Linked DNA regions of Homo sapiens: region 1 is linked to region 2. Evidence: promoter capture Hi-C in human tissues and cell types (Jung and others, 2019). All regions are on one chromosome and are shown on one strand. The core of a region is centred on a gene start or on the middle of the fragment in contact, and the rest is flanking DNA. Distances in the headings are between cores, read along the strand shown. Region 1 overlaps APBB1IP (amyloid beta precursor protein binding family B member 1 interacting protein). Region 2 holds the start of ANKRD26 (ankyrin repeat domain containing 26).

Evidence for each region. Contacts are between HindIII fragments. The study calls those that stand out against the background at their distance.
Region 1: a contact is called between a fragment that was not itself captured here and the fragment with the promoter of ANKRD26 in region 2, in 1 of the 25 tissues and cell types used here (lymphoblastoid cells).

What each region holds. Positions count from the first base shown.
Region 1 is chr10:26,472,195-26,478,528 of GRCh38, forward strand. The region is part of intron 2 of APBB1IP (amyloid beta precursor protein binding family B member 1 interacting protein); the gene reads left to right. Among named protein-coding and RNA genes, the nearest start is that of APBB1IP, 37 kb to the left of the region's middle. The HindIII fragment of the contact is 5,435 bases long and covers 389-5,823 here.
Region 2 is chr10:27,096,812-27,103,426 of GRCh38, forward strand. It overlaps ANKRD26 (ankyrin repeat domain containing 26), which reads right to left and starts at 3,683. Exons shown (of 34, transcript NM_014915.3): 1 at 3,274-3,683. The coding sequence starts at 3,515. RefSeq lists an enhancer at 3,120-3,179 and a silencer at 3,350-3,529. The HindIII fragment of the contact is 17,734 bases long and covers 1-6,615 here.

The DNA of each region.
Region 1 (6,334 bases), core at 1,856-4,355, 630 kb before region 2:
TTTTCTGCACATGAAAACATCTGGCTCAGATCATCATATCTTGAAAAGAAGAGCAAGCTACACATTTTCAACAATAGAGCTGATTAAATTATAGTGCAGTGCATCCACAGGAAAGAGGCCTGGAGCCATGAAAGTGGCTTTGGAATAATGCCCAATAATAGAAAGGAAAGCATTTTACAATCGCTATGGTCTGTATGGACCCACCTTCTCCTCATGTCTTTATCTCTATTTCCCACCCACTTCTGAAGGAGTTCAGTTTGGCTTCTACCCTCAACACTCCTGCACTGATAACCAGGGAGGTATCTGTGCAGTTAAAGCCAAAGGTCATTCTTTCATTTTCATCTTGAGAACATTCAGTATCCTCATCGTGTTTGTTTCATTCATTCATTCATTCATTCATTCATTCACATTTTCTTTTGGACATGAGAGATGATGCATTAAATGTTGAAAAACATCTTGGCCAGGCACAGTCAAGATCACATGTATAATCCCAGCACTCCGGGAGGCCAAGGCCGGCAGATCACCTGAAGTCAGGAGTTCGAGACCAGCCTGGCCAATATAGTGAAACCCCGTCTCTACTAAAAATACAAAAATTAGCCAGGCATGGTGCCACACTTCTGTAGTCCCAGCTACTCAGGAGGGTGAGGCAGGAGAATCACTTGAACCCGGGAGGCAGAGGTTGCAGTGAGCTGATATTGCACCACTGCACTCCAGCCTGGGCGACAGGGGGAGACTTCATCAAAAACAAAAAGAAAAAGATCTTAAGAGATAACAGCATACAGTTATTCATAGAGGTACATATCATTTCTTCTTAGGATTACAAAAGAAGTGTGTCTTCACTTCTTTACATTGACAATACAAAGATTCTAAGGCATATGGAACAGGCTAGGACCCTCAACTCTTTGTTACTCAAGCCCTTAGTCTTGTTCCTTACAACTTTTAGAGCTCACAACATGATTTTTAGGTTTATCAAAAAATGTCATGAATGTTTCTATATTTCTTGTTGGTTTATTTCTCATTATTGAGTTATATATTGCTGGAAGTTTAACAACTTCTCTTGAATTCCAACAGGAAGCATTTGCTAGGTAGGCATTTGGTACCTAATGGATAATCTTTCATGATGGATAAATCTGCCACATCAGTCTCTCTTGACTTTGAAAATTAAAATCTGGGCACTTTGGGAATTTCTGCTGTCTTAATTGGCTGGCCTGTCCTGTGAACAGCCGTCTTCTCTAAATGGTATAATAACTGCATTTCAGCGCTGTCTCATTGTGAGTCTTTTTGAAAGCTTTTAAAATGATGTTGTGTGATCCAAATTTAAATTAATAGTTAAGCAGTGTGTTCTACCACCAATGCAAATAACTCAACTGAATGACAATTGGATCCTGCTTCACTCAGTTTGCGCATAAATGGTTGAGGAAAACTACATCATAGGTGACCCCCGTTGGTGGTAGCCAAATTTCATAGTCTACTGTGTGAACCATCATGATTTCAGAAGCACTAAAATATAGAAACATACATTCTTGGCCAGGCACAGTGGCCCATGCCTGTAATTCCAACACTTTGGGAGGCCGAGGTGGGCAGATCACTTGAGGCCAAGAGTTTGAGACTAGCCTGTCCAACATGGTGAAACCCCATCTCTACTAAAAATACAAAAATTACCCAGGTTTGGGGGTGCATGCCTGTAATCCGAGCTACTTAGGAGGCTGAGGCATGAGAATTGCTTGAACGCCGGAGGCAGAGGTTACAGTGAGCCGAGATCGCACCACTGCACTCCAGCCTGGGTGACAGAGCCACCCTGTCTCAAAAAAAAAAAAAAAAAAAAAAAGTATGTTCTTGAATAGAAGAAATATGTTGTCACTATTTCTCCTTTTGGTTTCAGTGATTTTTTTTAATGTTCTCCAGCAATTTGTGGATTTATTTTGCAATTAGAAACAACTCACAAAACAACTACCAGTTCTAGCGTGGGCTGTGGTAGATTGAGCCTTTCAGAGAGTGTATGAAGTGGTGGTTTCAGCTCTCCAGTGGCTGTATCCTGCCTTCTAAGCAAAGCCTGGAATTTGTGCTCTGCCTAGGGCTGATGCCCAAACCTCAGTGGACAGGCCTGGTTTTCATTACTCCAGTAATAAGCAAGTTCATTACTTCATTGCTTGGAATCTTTAGCAAATATCCCCTCTGGGCTCCTGGAAGTTAAAAAGCCATTTGACACTAATATGCTCATGCTAAGTAAAAGAATTTTACTAATCGCCCAGGAAAATCTTCCTTGCACTAGAAAATGTTCATCTTCCAGTTGATGTTGAATGTTCTCTCCACAAAAATAATAACTGAGGTAAAGCATTTGTTAATTAGCTAGAACTAAGCATTCAACAATGTACACATACTTCAAAACATCCTGTTTCACATGATAAATACATAGAACTGTATCTGTTGGTTTAAAAAATAAGTTTTTTAAAAAGTAAAAAATAAATTGTCTTCCTTGCTGAAGCCAAATGAAAAATTGAGTCTAAAATATTTTAGGTTCTCCCACTTCCTCCTTCTCCATTTCCAGCTTGGAGTTGGAAGGAGAGAAAAGATTAATTTTTCTACATCATTGCTCAAAATCTTGTGATTACCAGAAAAGTTCCACTTCAGCCTGTTTATTAAGTAAGACATCTAGATCCAGGCATCTGTTTGCATCTCCTTTTTAACCAAGCTAAAGGTAGGTCTCAAGGCCATGGCCAGATCTGGACCTTGGCTTAACATTATCTGTTCTAGAGGCGGAAACGCCATCATGTCTATGAAGACATAACCCAGTTTTAGAAGTTTCTAGAAGCAGTGATGTAACAGACACCTCCCTCCTTTGAGATGAGAACGTGGCTCTATGAAAGCAGGTTTCTGTTTGACTCTCGCTGATGTGTCCGTGTCTTCCCTTGTTTTTTCTTTTTCTTTTCTTTTTTTTTTTTTTTTGAGATAGAGTCTCACTCTGTTGTCCAGGCTGGAGTGCAGTGGTGCAATCTCGGTTCACTGCAACCTCCGCCTCCCAGGTTCAAGCGATTCTCCTGCTTCAGCCTCCCAAGCATCTGGGATTATAGGCCCCTGCCACCACACCCAGCTGATTTTTATATTTTTAGTAGAGACGGGGTTTTGCCATGTTGGCCAGGCTGGTCTTGAACTCCTGACCTCACGTGATCTGCCCACCTGGGCCTCCCAGGAATGAGATTACAGGCCGGAGCCGCCGTGCCTGGCCTTCCCTTGCTTTTTCTTTGTGTGGATTTGAGTACATGTCAGATGTGCTGTGTGTGTCTAAGTGTGTGTTCCACCTGTGTTTTTCCTTCACACAATCCCAGGCCCTGATATGTTGTCTATATGGCTTATTTTCTGGAGCAGACAGGAACAGTGTAATGAAAGAGATCAGACTTGCGTTTAAATCCCATCCGGCCATGGATGTCCTGTGTGATCTTGGGCATGTCATTCGAACTCCTGACCACAAGCTCCTCATCTAAGAAAAGAGTGATATTATCTACCCCCACATGGTTTCTATGAGATTTAGACCAGATAATATATCAGCAGTACACAGGAGAGATAATATTTTTTTTCCTTTGCATAGTCTTTCCCTGCTACTGCTTTTCATTCTGCTCTTCTCCCTTCTTCCCCTTCTCTGTTTTTTGTTTGTTTGTTTTGTTTTGTTTTTTAACCCAGGTCGAGTCAATTTCAAAGGCTGGTTCTGCTTCTTTTATTCTCCAGCTTTTCATTTTGAAAAGTTTCAAAGCTTACACCAGTGCAGTGGTTCATGCCTATAATCCCAGCACTTTGGGAGGCCAAGGCCAGAGGATCGCTTGAGGCCAAGAGTTCAAGACCATCTTGGGCAAGATGCTGTCTTTATAAAAACTTTTTTTTTTTTTTTTGAGAGAGTCTCCCTCTGTGGCCCAGGCTAGGGTGCAATGCCACAATCACAGCTCAGGGCAACCTCCGCCTCCCGGGTTCAATCTATTCTCCTGCCTCAGCCTCCCGAGCAGCTGGGATTACAGATGCCCGCCACCACGCCTGGCTAATTTTTATATTTTTGGTAGAGACAGCATTTCACCATGTTGGCCAGGCTGGTCTCAAACTAAAAATTTTTTTAACTAGCTGGGCATGGTGGTGTGCACCTGTAGTCCCAGCTACTTGGGAGGCTGAAGCAGGAGGATTGCTTCAGCTCAGGAGTTCAAGGCTGCAGTGAGCTCTGATTGCACCACTGCACTCCAGTCTGTGTGACAGAGCAAGACCCTGTCTCAAAAAAAAAAAAAAAAAAAGAAGAAAAGAAAAGAAAGGAAAAGAGACAGTTTTAAAAAGTTTTAAAACTTAAAAAAAGTAAGAATCGTGTAATGGACAGGCATGTACCCTTCACCAAGATTCACTCATTATTTACATTCTGCTACATTCCTGCTTTATTTTTTTCACCATTTATCTCTTAAGAACAAAGACGTTCTGTCTTTGTTACACAATGCATGTATCACAGTACAGTAAATGTACAGTAAATGTGATCATGCTCAGTAAATGTTATGTGATTTAATACTATATTCTGATATATAGTCCATATTCAACTTTTCCAATTACCCAACAATGTCCACTTTTCTGTTTTTATTTTTATTTATTTATTCTTTTTAAGGCGGAGTCTTGCTCTGTCACCCAGGCTGGAGTACAATGGCGTGATCTCAGCTCACTACAATCTCCGCCTCCCAGGTTCAAGAGATTCTCCTGCCTCAGCCTCCTGAGTAGCTGGGATTACAGGCGTATGCCACCATGCCTGGCTAATTTTTGTATTTTTAGTAGAGGCGGGGTTTCACCATATTGGCCAGGCTGGTCTCGAACTCCTGACCTCAGCTGATCCACCCACCTCGGCCTCCCAAAGTTCTGGGATTACAGGTGTGAACCACCGTACCCAGCCCTACTTTTCTTCCCAGACCAGTTACTTTGTTCATTTTGCAGAATATTCCTCAGTTTGGATTTAGCTGATCAATTCATCTTGATTTTGGTAGCAGTATTACAGAGGTGAGGCTGTGTCCTCAGGGGATTGCATCAGTGGGGCACACGATGTCACATGGTCCCATTATTGATAATTCTAAGTTTGATCATTTGGTTAAAGCCATGTCCACCAGATTTTCTCAATTAAAAGTATTTCTTTGATAAGTGTTAAGTAATAGTTTTCATATAGTTTTACTTCTGAGTCTTGTTGTGCATTTTGGGGTCATATTCTCATTTTTTCACCTACCCTGGAGTTTGACTTTGCAGAGTGGAATGATACTTCAAGTGAATACCATGTTCTCCAACCATCTTTCACCTAGTGGTTTATTCATTCATTGTTTATTCTTGCCACCCACCATGGTGGTTGTAGAATTATGTCTTTTGAAAAAATTCTATCATTGTCTCTTCTACTGCTCTCTCTTAAGCTGTTAACCTACTTTGCAATACTTTTGAAGATTTTTCATGACCAAGGTAGGCACTATGCTTAGCAACAAAACACAAAGGCGAATAACACGGCCTCGACTCCTGCCCCTGTGGAGCTTGAGTGAATATACCATGTTTCTAATTTTTTTGAGTCAAGGTCTCACTCTGTCACCTGGGCTTGAATGCAATGTTAGATCACAGTTCACTGCAACCTCAAACTCCTGGGCTCAAGTGATCCTCCCGCCTCAGCCTCTCAAGTAGCTAGGTGCATGCCACCACATCCAACTAACTTTTTAAAATTTTTTGTAGAGACGGGATCATGCTGTGTCGCCCAGGCTGGTAGTTTTTTAAATTTATCCATTTATTTAACAAATAGTCACTCAGAGTCTATCATGTATTTACATTATTCTATTTACTGAGAATCCAACAGTGAACAAAAACAGTCAAATCCCTGCCCTCACCGGGCTTACACCGTAGTTGATGAGCGGGAAGAGAGTATAATTAGAGAAAGCAGAGGTGGTAGAAACAGTTGATTTTGAAATAGGTCAGGGCTCAGTAATGAGGAGACATTAAAGCAAAGACCTAAAGGCAGTGAGAGAACCGCTGTTTGGGTGAGTAGGGAACAGGTGTTCCAGGCAGAGAGAAAAGCATGAGCGAATGCACGCTCACAGGGTTCGAGTTACAGCTGGGAGGCTCATGTGAGCAGAGCACAGAGATAAAATCCAAGGGGCCAGTGAGTGGGGCGGGAGGATGGAGGCGGTTGAGAAGGTAGCTGAATGTGTGAATTAGAAGGAGGCGTTTGGGGCCAGGCATGGTGTCTCATGCCTGTAATCCCAGCACTTTGGGAGGCCAAGGCAGGTGGTTCACTTGAGGTCAGGAGTGGCGCATGCCTGTAATCCAGCTACTCAGCAGTCTGAGGCAGGAGAAT
Region 2 (6,615 bases), core at 2,433-4,932:
GTCCACTACTGTTATGTTTCCAATTCAAAGATCAAGTCTATATTCTACCACATTTTATTAAAATACTACGCACTTACATTAATATGCTTATAACTAGCGGTGGTTCACGCCTGTAATCCCAACACTTTGGGAGGCCAAGGCAGGCAGATCACTTGAGGTTAGGAGTTTGAGACCAGCCTGGCCAACAGGGTAGAACCCCATCTATACTAAAAATACAAAAATTAGCCAGGCATGGTGGCACGTGCCTGGAATCTCAGCTACTAGGGAGGCTGAGGCAGGAGAATTGCTTGAACCCAGGAGATGGATGTTGCATTGAGCCGAGATCACACCATTGCACTCCAGCCTGGGCGAAGAAGCGAGACTTCACCTCAAAAACAAAAAAGGCCAGGCGCGGTGGCTCAAGCCTGTAATCTCAGCACTTTGGGAGGCCGAGGTGGGCAGATCACAAGGTCAGGAGATCGAGACCACCCTGGCTAACACAGTGAAACCCTGTCTCTACTAGAAATACAAAAAAAAAAAAAAATTAGCTGTCCCAGCTACTCAGGAGACTGAGGCAGGAGAATCGCTTGAACCCAGGAAGCAGAGGTTGCAGTAAAGCTGAGATCTGGCCACTGCACTCCAGCCTGGGCAACAGAGGGAGACTCTGTCTAAGAAAAAAAGAAAAAAGAGATAGTAGACTATGTCTGCTACATAACAGGTATTCAGGTTATGATTGATGAATAAATGGATTGAAAGAATGGAAAAATCATTAGGGAGTTCAATATTTTTAAATAAAATTCTTATAAAGTAGAGTAATTCTTTTATTCTTTTGCAATAATATTTATCTTTTTTTTGTTTTGTTTTGTTTTGTTTTTTTGAGATGGAGTCTCGCTCTGTCACCCAGGGTGGATTGCAGTGGTGCAATCTCAGCTCACTGTACCCTCCGCCTCCCAGGTGCACGCTATTCTACTGCCTGCCTCAGTCTCCCAAGTACCTGAGACTACAGGTGTGTACCACCACACCTGGCTAATATTTGTATTTTTACTACAGAAGGGTTTCACTACGTTGGCCAGGATGGTCTTGAATTCCTGGACTTAAGTGATCCACCCTCCTCAGCCTCCCAAAGTGCTGGGATTACAGGCCTAAGCCATTGCATCCAGCCTAATTATCATTTATATTTGGTATTTTTATTGTCATAAGGACACAACTAAAATAAAATGATTGTACCTGTTTGCATATATAATAAATCTATAATAAAAACATGTATATGATAAAATGTATACATAAAATCTATAAATACAGATAAAAAGATACCCTTTACTTTTTCTTTTTTTATTTTTATTTTTTATCTTCTTAATTTTTGGTGGCAAGAACAAAGATCTGCTTTACCTTTCATTTTTAATAGAGACAGGGTCTTGCTATGTTGCCCAGGCTAGTTTCGAACTCCTGGGTCAAGCAATCCTCCTGCCTGGGCCTCCCAAAGTGCTGGGATTACAGTCATGAGCCACAGGTGCCCAGCCAAGATCCCCTTTACTTCTGAAAAGGATAAAAGTTGTCAGACGATAGCAATCCACCAAAAAAAGAAAAAAAAGAAAGTGGGAAATGATTTTTATCTGTGCAAGATTCATATTCCTCTCTTCCCAAGGATTACTTCATTAATAATAAATTTTCACTAGAACTTTTATACATACTCATTGCAGAAATCATAAAGAAAAAAGTTTGACTTATTATACAAATGCCCAGAAATAACAAATTTTACCACTTTTTTTTTTTTTTGAGACGGAGTCTTGCTCTGTCGCCCAGGCTGGAGTGCAGTGGCGTGATCTCCGCTCACTGCAAGCTCCGCCTCCCGGGTTCACGCCATTCTCCTGCCTCAGCCTCCGGAGTAGCTGGGACTACAGGCGCCCGCCACCATGCCCGGCTGATTTTTTTGTATTTTTAGTAGAAACGGGGTTTCACTGTGTTAGCCAGGATGGTCTCGATCTCCTGACCTCGTGATCCGCCCGCCTCGGCCTCCCGAAGTGCTGGGATTACAGGCGTGAGACACCGCGCCTGGCCAAATTTTACCACGTTTTGTACATATTTTCAGCTAACACAAGACCACAGTCTGTATGTATAATCAAACTTTTTTTCTCACTTGAGATACCAAAGTATATCCTCACATGCCAATACACTTCTGTATCTATTGCCACTTTCTTTTCTTTCTTTCTTTTTTTTGAGACAGAGTTTTGCTCTTGTTGCCCAGGCTGGAGTGCAATGGCACGATCTTGGCTCACTGCAACCTCTGCCTCCCAGGTTCAAGCGATTCTCCTGCCTCAGTCTTCGGAGTAGCTGAGATTACAGGCTCCCACCACCATGCCTAGCTAATTTTTGTATTTTTAGTAGAGACGGGGTTTCACCATGTTGGCCAAGCTGGTCTCGAACTTCTGACCTCAGGATATCCGCTTGCCTTGGTCTCCTAAAATGCTGGGTTTACAGGCGCGAGCCACCACGCCTGGCCTCTACTGCCACTTTCAATGGTCACATATTATCATGCACTGACATTTATTCACAAAATCCATTCTATGGGTTCTCCTTAATACACTGCTTAAGCAATGCTGAGAAAAACAAATTACTTGTATATCTATTTCCTAAAGGCATTTTATTTCTTTTTCTTTTTGAAAGATAGGGTCTTGCTCTGTTGTCACTGACATACCTCACTGCAGCCTAGAACTCCTGGGCTCAAGTGATGCTCCTGCCTCAGCCTTCCAAGTAGCTGAGACTATTAGAGTTGGGGGGGGGGGTCTCGCTATAATGCCCAGGCTGGCCTTGAACTCCTGGCCTCAAGCAATCCTCCCGCCTCAGCCTCCCGAAGTGCTGTGATTACAGGCGCGAGCCACCGCGCCTGACGAATAACAGATTTTATAGAAATAATTTTTAACCCAGAAGTTGCTATATTATGGAAACTGCTTATCTCATTATGCACCTTTCCATAAGTGTATGACATTGTATCTTAAATGTGTACATTAAAAATAAAACGCTGTACGTGCTTTTGTTCGTTAATTCACTTTAAAATTGTCACTTAAGTGCTCTCTAAGGGATTTCGGGGGGATCGGAAACCAGCTAGAGTTCTGTTTTTGTTTTTCTGCTCAGAAAGGCGGCCTGGGCGCTGGAGCCCTGCAAGGTGTCACCGTCCCAGGGGCTACGGAGCCCGCGGGAGGCTGATCCAGGCCCTGGGTGGCTCCCACAAAAGGGGCCCCTCTTCCTGCCCGCCTACTCCAGTGGCACTCAGTCCGGGCTTGCGACGCCTATTACCTGTTCATCTTGTCTCTATCGTTCAAGCCATTCTTCCTGAGCAAAAGGATCTGCTGCACTTTCGCCACATTACCCGCGCTGGCAGCTTTGTGGATCTTGCCGAGATCTCGGTCTCGGACGTGGTAGCCGGGCTGCGAGTAGGCGCCCTCCCCCGGCTCGCCCCCGCCTCCCGCGCTGCTCCTCTGCCGCCGCGCGAAGGAGCCCAAGGGCGACTCGCCCTTCTTACTAAAAATCTTCTTCATGGCCCAGGCGACCGGGCTTCAGAGACACCTCATGTCTCTCTCGGCTCTTAACGGCCTCCGGAGCCCAACATAACAAGTCAGCCCCGGCTGGCCGCAGCCTCCCAAAGGAAACTCCGCGGTTTCCAATCTCTCCCTCCGGGTTACCAAGCAAGCGATCCCGCTAGACACAAGTGCGCATGCGCACCTCAGATGGCAAGGTCCACGCGCGTGCGCACGAAGGCCCAGTGGTCAAGTGTGCTCCATGCGCATGTGCAAGGCCCAGACCTCGCAAATCTCGGCGACTGGGACGAGCCCTGCGTTCCTGTCAAACAAATGTCGGTGGGAGTCTGGCTGAGTGTTCAGGACGTTTGCGAAAAGAAGCCTCGCGCCTGTGGGGAAGCAGCCTTTACGCATGACTGGGACTGGAGTAGCGTGGAGTTTTAAGATGCTGAAAGCCTCTTCTCCGAGAAAACTCCCCTAAGAAACTCTCTGAATCTCCCTATCTCTCAGTTTATTCCCCTTCCATGTCCCTTTGGGTGCCATCTGGTCTCCATGAGAACTTAACAGATGCAACAACAGAGGGCACAGGATTTCGGAGATCGTGGCATATGTGTCAAGTGCAGAGGGCACAGGATTTCGGAGATCGTGGCAATATGTGTCAAGTGCAAACTTACGAGGAGAAACCAATGCACATTCTCCAGAAGAAATGAGAACGCATTTCTGCATGCCTCCTTCCCCCACCCCTCTGCCTTTGGCCCAGCCTTATGTTTTATTTTTTGCTTTTGATTTTCCAAGGTTACATCTCTTTCTTCTTTTTTTTTTTTTTTTCCCCAACAGAGTCTCGCTTTGTCGCCCAGACTGTAGTGCAGTGGTGCAATCACGGCTCACTGCAGTCTCCACCTCCTGGGCTCAACGATACTCCCACCTCAGCCTCCTGAGTGAGTAGCTGAGACTACAGACGCAAGCCACCACGCCCGGCTATTTTTGCATTTTTTGTAGAGACAGGGTCTCACCATGTTGCCCAGGCTGGTCTCCGACTCCAGGGCTCAAATGATGCTCCCATCTCAGCCTCCCAAAGTGCTGGGATTACAGGTGTGAACCACCACGCCCAGCCTAGATTGAATAATTTGACAACAAATTGGAATTAGCAACGCAGACGTCAAGTGGAGTCTCAGCAGAAATTGCTGCTGGAATGCACCTCCATAGCTCTGGACAGCTCTAGGGTCCCTTGTGGAGGAGGTGGCTGGCCCCAGAACAGGCGTCTTTATTGCCAAGTGAGAAATGAGCAAAAACAAAACAACACTTCTCAGGCCTCTCCAGCTTAGCTAGATCAAATGGTTTTGATGTGGGAGAGTGGTTTCCACTATCGTCACCAAGAATTTTCCTCCTACACTACCCCAGCTAGAAAGTTATGTTGTCTCCTCAACACTCCCCAAGGTGATCTATGAAGCTAGTCAAGTCCCAGCACTTTAGGAGGCCGAGGTGGGTGGATTACCTGAGGTCAGGAGTTCGAGACCAGGCCAACGTGGTGAAACCCCGTCTCTACTAAAAATACAAAAATTAGCTGGGTGTGGTGGTGCATGCCTGTAGTCCCAGCTACTCGGGAGGCTGAGGCAGGAGAAACACTTGAACCTGGGAGGCAGAGGTTCACACCACTGCCTCTGGAGTGGAGACTCTTGGATGGAGACCACGACTCTCTCTCAAAAAACAAAAACAAAAACAAACAAAAAATACTCAAGTGTGGAGAACACTGACTCTGAACAGAGGACTCTGACATTTCCTAATGCAGCCTGAAATTAAGGCCAAAGACATTACCAGTCTGGATGGATATAGGAATCACACACCACTCTCCAGGTAAGTTGTAGAGATTTGGTTGACTATAGTGTTTTTGTATAGACCAGAGATACCCAAGGACTATATGTTAGGCCAGCTCTGAGGTGTTGAATTCATCAGCCAAATGCTGGATCCCCAAAAAGTTTCTTGGAGTTCATTGAAAGCTAAGATCTCCCATTCATATGGAAATTAATTTCAGATCCAGAGCAGACACCCTCTAGAAAGTTGTCACTTGGAACTCCCATGCCTATCTAAGGCTAAAGTAATGCCCTGGTTCAGTTTTCCTATACCCTCATTTAATAATTATGTCAATGAAATTAATGTGTTAGGGGAATATTTGTTTTATAGTGAAAATCAACTGAGATATGAATGCCTTAGCAAATCCCTTAGATAAAGCTCTTTTTTTTTTTTTTTTTGAGATGAAGTCTCGCTCTGTCTCCCAGGCTGGAGTGCAGTGGCACGATATCTCGGCTCACTGCAAGCTCCGCCTCCTTGGTTCACACCATTCTCCTGCCTCAGCCTCCTGAGTAGCTGGGACTACAGGCGCCCACCACCACACCCGGCTACTTTTTGTATTTTGTTTAGTAGAGACGGGGTTTCACTGTGTTAGCCAGGATGGTCTCAATCTCCTGACCTCGTGATCCGCCCGCCTTGGCCTCCCAAAATGCTGGGATTACAGGCGTGAGCCACCGTGCCTGGCCAGATAAAGCTCTTTAATTCCAGTTCAAGGCTGTCACACGTGTTTTCTCCTTTTAAGAGTTACCAAGAAACTCATCAAACCCTTTTCCAAAACTGGTTCATTCATTCTTTGAAATGTGTCTTCCCATGCATTCTGCTGTGTCTATTGAGGAATAATGAAACTATAATTAAACCATGATTAGAACATAAGGGCTCAAGTGTGTTGAGGCCCATCTACCTGTATCTCCTGGAGATCCAAGACCTGGGATGATCACAGTAAGGAGGCCACCACATTAAACAGAAACATGTTCTGGGAACCTTCTTTATTCTAGGTATTGTGAGAGTCAGTGAGGAAACAACAGATGTGTTATTCTTCACTTCAGGGAGGGAGGCAAATTTCATGTTTAGTGCCACATTAAGGGGGAGCACAGAGGGCCTATAGAATCATGTCAAGAGAAGGGTGGTAGGTCATGGAGAGAGGCACATGAAGAAGTGATGTCAAAGCTGAAATTTAGGGCTGGGCATGGTGGTGTACACCTGTAATCCCAGCACTTTGAAAGGCTGAGGCTGGCGGATCACTTGAGCTCAGGAGTTCGAGATCAGCCTGGGC